2 separate regions of the Homo sapiens genome follow, and region 2 is linked to region 1. The links are contacts of gene promoters, found by promoter capture Hi-C in human tissues and cell types (Jung and others, 2019). All regions are on one chromosome and are shown on one strand. The core of a region is centred on a gene start or on the middle of the fragment in contact, and the rest is flanking DNA. Distances in the headings are between cores, read along the strand shown. Region 1 holds the start of ZNF750 (zinc finger protein 750). Region 2 overlaps TBCD (tubulin folding cofactor D).

Evidence for each region. The method cuts DNA at HindIII sites, captures the fragments that hold promoters and counts their contacts. A contact is called where the count stands out against the background at its distance.
Region 2: a fragment that was not itself captured here is called in contact with the fragment with the promoter of ZNF750 in region 1 in 3 of the 25 tissues and cell types used here (dorsolateral prefrontal cortex, lymphoblastoid cells and spleen).

The regions. Positions count from the first base shown.
Region 1 is chr17:82,838,667-82,841,372 of GRCh38, reverse strand. It overlaps ZNF750 (zinc finger protein 750), which reads left to right and starts at 1,351. Exons shown (of 3, transcript NM_024702.3): 1 at 1,351-1,446. All of the region lies in intron 13 of TBCD (tubulin folding cofactor D), which reads right to left. The HindIII fragment of the contact is 7,618 bases long and covers 1-1,953 here.
Region 2 is chr17:82,798,465-82,801,164 of GRCh38, reverse strand. It overlaps TBCD (tubulin folding cofactor D), which reads right to left. Exons shown (of 39, transcript NM_005993.5): 9 at 169-301. Among named protein-coding and RNA genes, the nearest start is that of ZNF750, 40 kb to the left of the region's middle. The HindIII fragment of the contact is 8,431 bases long and covers 1-2,700 here.

The DNA.
Region 1 (2,706 bases), core at 102-2,601:
GCACTCCAGCTTGGGTGACAGGGCAAGACCCTGTCTCAAAAGAAAAAAAAAAGGAATTAAATATAAAAGTAAACGCAAAGCCATGTAAAATCTTAAGTCTTAAGGAAAAAAATAACAAAAACAAAAAAACAGACCGGGTGCAGTGGCTCACACCTGTAATCCAAGCACTTTGGGAGGCCGACGTGGGTGGATCACAAGGTCAGGAGATCAAGACCATCCTGGCTAACACGGTGAAACCCCATCTCTACTAAAAATACAAAAAATTAGCCGGGCGTGGTGGCAGGCGCCTGTAGTCCCAGCTACTCGGGAGGCTGAGGCAGGAGAAACGCAGTGAGCCAAGATCATGCCATTGCACTCCAGCCTGGGCAGCAACAGTGAAACTCTGTCTCAAAAAAAAAAAAAAAAAAAAAAAAAAAAACCAGTTTGTCTGTCCTGGCCAGCTCGTCCCTATGCCACAGCCCTGCAGCCTCTGCCCTGCAGCCTCAGGCTCATCCAAGGGCCTGACACCAGCTCATCCCACCTCCTTTCCCAGTCCTCAAACCGACACCACATGCCAGCCTTCGCTACAACTGGGGTGCGGCCTCCGATTAAGCAAGCAAGCAGTTTTGGTGGGGGGGTGTGGAGGTAAAAACTGGCCCCCAAGTTAAGTGCCTCTGCAATTTAAAGTGGGGGGAGGGTGGTTTGCGGGAGTGCACAGCTGGCCCCCTCCCCCGCACCCACACACCCTGCTCCGCAGCTCTTGCGGTGCCTGGTGTCGGGCAAGCTCCGGCAGGTCCCTGCAGCCAGGCTCTGGGATAAGCTCCCTCCCTGCCGGCTCAGCTCCTGAGGAGGACCAGGGACAGAGACTCTCAGGAGCAGGGTAGAGGGTGGAAGGTCCACAGATCCTCAAAGGCCTCACTGGACCTCATGGCAAGGACGCCATGAATACTGTGCCTCCCAGGGTATGCGCGCTTGAGAATCAATCCAAGTGTTTGCCTCCTGCGTACACATGCTCAAGTTCTAAAGGAAAGTCTCACATGTCTTTATCATGACGCCAAATATTCATCGGGTGTGATTCTGATGAATATAGTAATCTCTATTCTAACTGCGGACACATCGAAAGCCCTCTGACATATGGCCGTCCAGGCAGCACCGACGCCGCACTCACAGACAGTTGAGTCTGGAGACAGCGCTGGGAGTCGGCGAGATAACTTGCTTGCTGGGTCCAGTGCTGGGGAGGCTGCCCGCAGCAGCTCGGTGGGTGCAAACACATGAATCGTAGCTGCGGGCAGGAGGAATATCAGGTGCATCTCTACGCCCCGAGGGCTCAACTCCTACACTTAAATCCCTCCCACTGGAACAGCAGGCTCCAGTTTCACCCAGCAAGCGTGAGAACAGGTACTGCTTCCTGAGCACCGCCAGCCACCGGCACCAAGACCGGCCACATCCCAGCACTGCCCACCTCTGGTAAGTACTCACTATTTCTTTTCAAATTCAAGTTTTATTTTAAAACTCTTCTCAGACGTATCTAAAATACCCAGCTGAACGCAGCGTTTGCTCCGTGTCTGCTCTGCCTTGCTCTGGGCTCCGAGGATTACTCAGGACCCAGCAGGTGCATGGCTGGGATGCAGACCACGATTACAAAACTTCTAATGAGGCTGACACTTTATTCTAAGAACATGAACAAGCTTATCTGGAAATTAACTCCTTGTTCTGCCCTAAAATTCATAAAAGTTAAACCAACACAAATTCATATTATTGCTTAACTGCTCCTAACCTCAAAAACAAACTACAATAAATGCTAACAAGAGGTAAGGGTCATATATATATGTGTGGTGTATGTACATTAGGGTGAATTTAGGGTTATATGTGTGGTGTATGTACATTAGGGCTGAATTTAGGGTTATATATATGTGTGGTGTATGTACATTAGGCTGAATTTAGGGTTATATATGTGTGGTGTATGTACATTAGGGCTGAATTTAGGGTTATATATATGTGTGGTGTATGTACATTAGGCTGAATTTAGGGTTATATATATGTGTGTGTGGTATATGTACATTAGGCTGAATTTAGGGTTATATATGTGTGGTATAAGTACATCAGGCTGAATTTAGGGTTATATATATGTGTGGTGTATACACATTAGACACAGCTGAATTTAGGGTTATATGTTTGTGGTGTATGCACATTAGACAGTGCCGAATTTACTATCTAGTTTAACTTTTAATAGTTTTAAAGTTTAAAATAAGTACATAAGCTTACATGAAGTTTAAAATTGGGCATAAGCTTTCGAAAACAAAACCAAACCAAAGGGGTTAAGTTTCTGTTTGGTTGTTAAGGTCTTCTGTACATATAGACACAGATACAAAAGGGTTTTTTTCCTTATATGAAATTTCTCATAAACTTGATTTGGAGGAGAACAATTACTGACCAAGCACAGTCCGTCCACATCTGTGCCCCTAATTTTCACTGCGCATTAGCAAAGGCCTTCCAGCATTTCTGACCGGAGTTTCAGGATGAGGCGGCGACTGTAAAGTGGTGAGCGTTTGTTTACGAGCTCAGGTCTGTAACTCGGGATCTCCTGCCGAAACTAGAGTTAAGAGCCCCTGGTTGTTTTTCTGGATCCATTCTTCCAAATTACATTCCCAAAGACTGTCTTTTCCCCAGGTCTTGGTTGTCCTGAGGTTTATCTTTCATTTTAAAGAACCGAAAGGCTGGGAGGGA
Region 2 (2,700 bases), core at 28-2,527, 40 kb after region 1:
CTCCCCACCCCATGGCGCCTGCCTCCCCCACCCCGCAACAGGGCGACTGCCTCCCCACAGCACCTGCCCCAACAGCACCTGCCCCGCCCTCATCAATGGCGCCTGCCCCCCACAGCAACCCCTCCCCACCCCGTGGCCCTCCCCAGGCACCGCCCTCATGGTGCCTACCTCCATGCTGCCACCTTCGGCTTCAGGAATGTCAGCCCCAGTCGCTGCACAAGCTTCACCCCCAGCTTCCGCAGCAGGGTCTGGTTGCTCTCAGGGAGTCTGCAGCCATCGAGGCACCTGAGGACAGTGGCAGCTGCAAACAAGAACTGGACTCAGCGCAGGAAGGGCTGCAGGCATCTTCTGACTGCACCACCTGTGTCCCCGAAACCAACAGCCGGCTCCACAGGGGCCTTGAGGCAGGAGACATCACCAAGACCCCCATCATCCCAAATCATGAACCAAGAGCTGCTGGAGTTGAACCTACTCGACTTCCTTGCTGTGAAGCAACATCAGTGGAGGTCAGGAGAGCAAGTACTCAGAGGGCAGGGAGCCAATCTGAAGGGGGGCAGCACACACAAAGGCCCAACCGACCACAGGCACACTGCAGCCACGGAGACCCCACAGGCCACGGGCATCCTGCGGCCACAGAGACCACGCAGGCCACGGGCATGCTGTGGCCGGGGAGAACACACAGGCCACAGGGCACACTGCAGCAACCCCAGAAGCCATGGAGCACACTGCGGCTGGGGAGAACACACAGGCCACGGGGTTCCTGTGGCTTGCTCTGTTTTTCAGGGGGAATCACTCGGTGTCATGCAGTGATGACAATAGCAGGACAGGAGGCTGAGCCAAGGGGAGGCTCAAGGTAGCACTGGGCACAGCACGACAGGGAGAGCCTGCGAGCAGGAGACGCCCGGGTGCTGCGACGAGGGCAAGCTGAGGCCAGGAGGACAGCATTCCCGGGACAGACAAGGGCTGGGGTGGAAGTGCATGGCGGCTTCAGAGATGGGCTGGAAGTGAAATGGACAAGACTGCAACCAACTGACAGGGGACAGGAGAAAAGAAGAGAAGCTGAAGACAGAGCTGAGAGTTAGGTGAGGTGATGGAAGACAAGGAGATGGAGGAAGGGGCAGTGGGGCGGGGACAGAGCAGGGGGATGGGGGCTGGAGCTGCAGTGCCCTGCAGGAAGCTCTGCCTTGAGGCTGGGAAATGACAGAAAGTGAACGTTCACCAGTTTTATGTGGGTGCCGTGACCTCGGGCAGAGGTGCCGTTTAACTCATAATGCTTGCCTATAAAACCAGGTCAGCTGAAAGAGCATCTGAGTAACTTCTCAGAAGGCTCTGACAGTGGGCACAATGAGCGTGGGTGACAAGCACGACAGCCCAAGAGGGAGGTCTGTGTTCACGTCACCAAGGACGCTCCTCCCGCCGACAGGGCCTGGCAACGGCTGCTCGCGTTCTCGGGTGTGGTGAGGACATAAAGAGCCCCACCTTCCAGAGACATGTATGGAAGTACACACAGGTGAGATGGCACTGTGTGTCCCTCCTGTGCGGTGCAGGGATGAAACAGGCTGCACACGAAAACTCGCACACTCCTGAGAGAGACACGGGGCGTGCACGCCATTCTCTCTTCTTTATACATGTTTCAAATTTTCCATAATGAAAAACTTTCAAAAAAAGAAAGTTATTCAAATTTGATATTCGGATAGTTTCTTTTTTTTTTTTTTTTTTTTTTGAGACAGAGTCTTGCTCTGTCGCCAGGCTAGAGTGCTGTGGCGCGATCTCAGCTCACTGCAACCTCCAACTCCCTGGCTCAAGGGATTCTCCTGCCTCCGCCTCCCGAGTAGCTGGGATTACAGGCATGTGCCACCATGCCCAGCTAATTTTTGTATTTTTAGTAGAGATGGGGTTTCACTATGTTGGCCAGGCTGGTCTCGATCTCCTGACCTCGTGATCCACCCGCCTCAGCCTCCCAAAGCGCTGGGATTACAGGCGTGAGCCACAACGCCCAGTCCGGATAGCTTCTAAAACACACAAAGGCTCTAAGAAGTTTCTCTTTTTCCAGATGGTAAACCTCTGCGTGGAGAAAAACACTGCCCTTATTTTCAGAAATTGAGGCTCAATCTAAAATTAAGAGAATTGAGCCAGGCGTGGTGGCTCATACCTTTAAGCCCAGCACTTTGGGAGGCCAAGGCAGGGCAGATCACTTGAGCCCAGGAGTTCAAGACCAGCCTGGACAGCACAGCAAGACCCCACTGCTAAAAAAATTAGCCGGGCGTGGTAGAGCTCGCCTGTAGTCCCAGCCACTCAGGGGGCTGAGGTGGGAGGATGGCTTGAGCCCAGGAGGTCGAAGCTGCAGTGAGCTGTGTCATGTATTCCAGCCTGGGCGACACAGTAAGATGCAGTCTCAAAAAGAATAAATTAAGAGAATTAGGAAGAAGGCAAAAGAGGTGGTGGCTGTGGCTATCAGAGGAACATGGCTGCTCCTGGGCCCCAAGAAGCCAGGTCCAACCTCAGATCATGACACGGGCTTTGCCCAGACCTCCCTCACGAGACCCCTGGCAGCAATCCCTCTTTATCAAAGGACTAGGAAAGTGACAAAAAGTCCAGTTATTACGCCTGTAATCCCAGCACTTTGGGAGGCCGAGGCAGGCAGATCACTAGGTCAGCAGTTCAAGACTAGCCTGGCCAACATGGTGAAACCCCATCTCT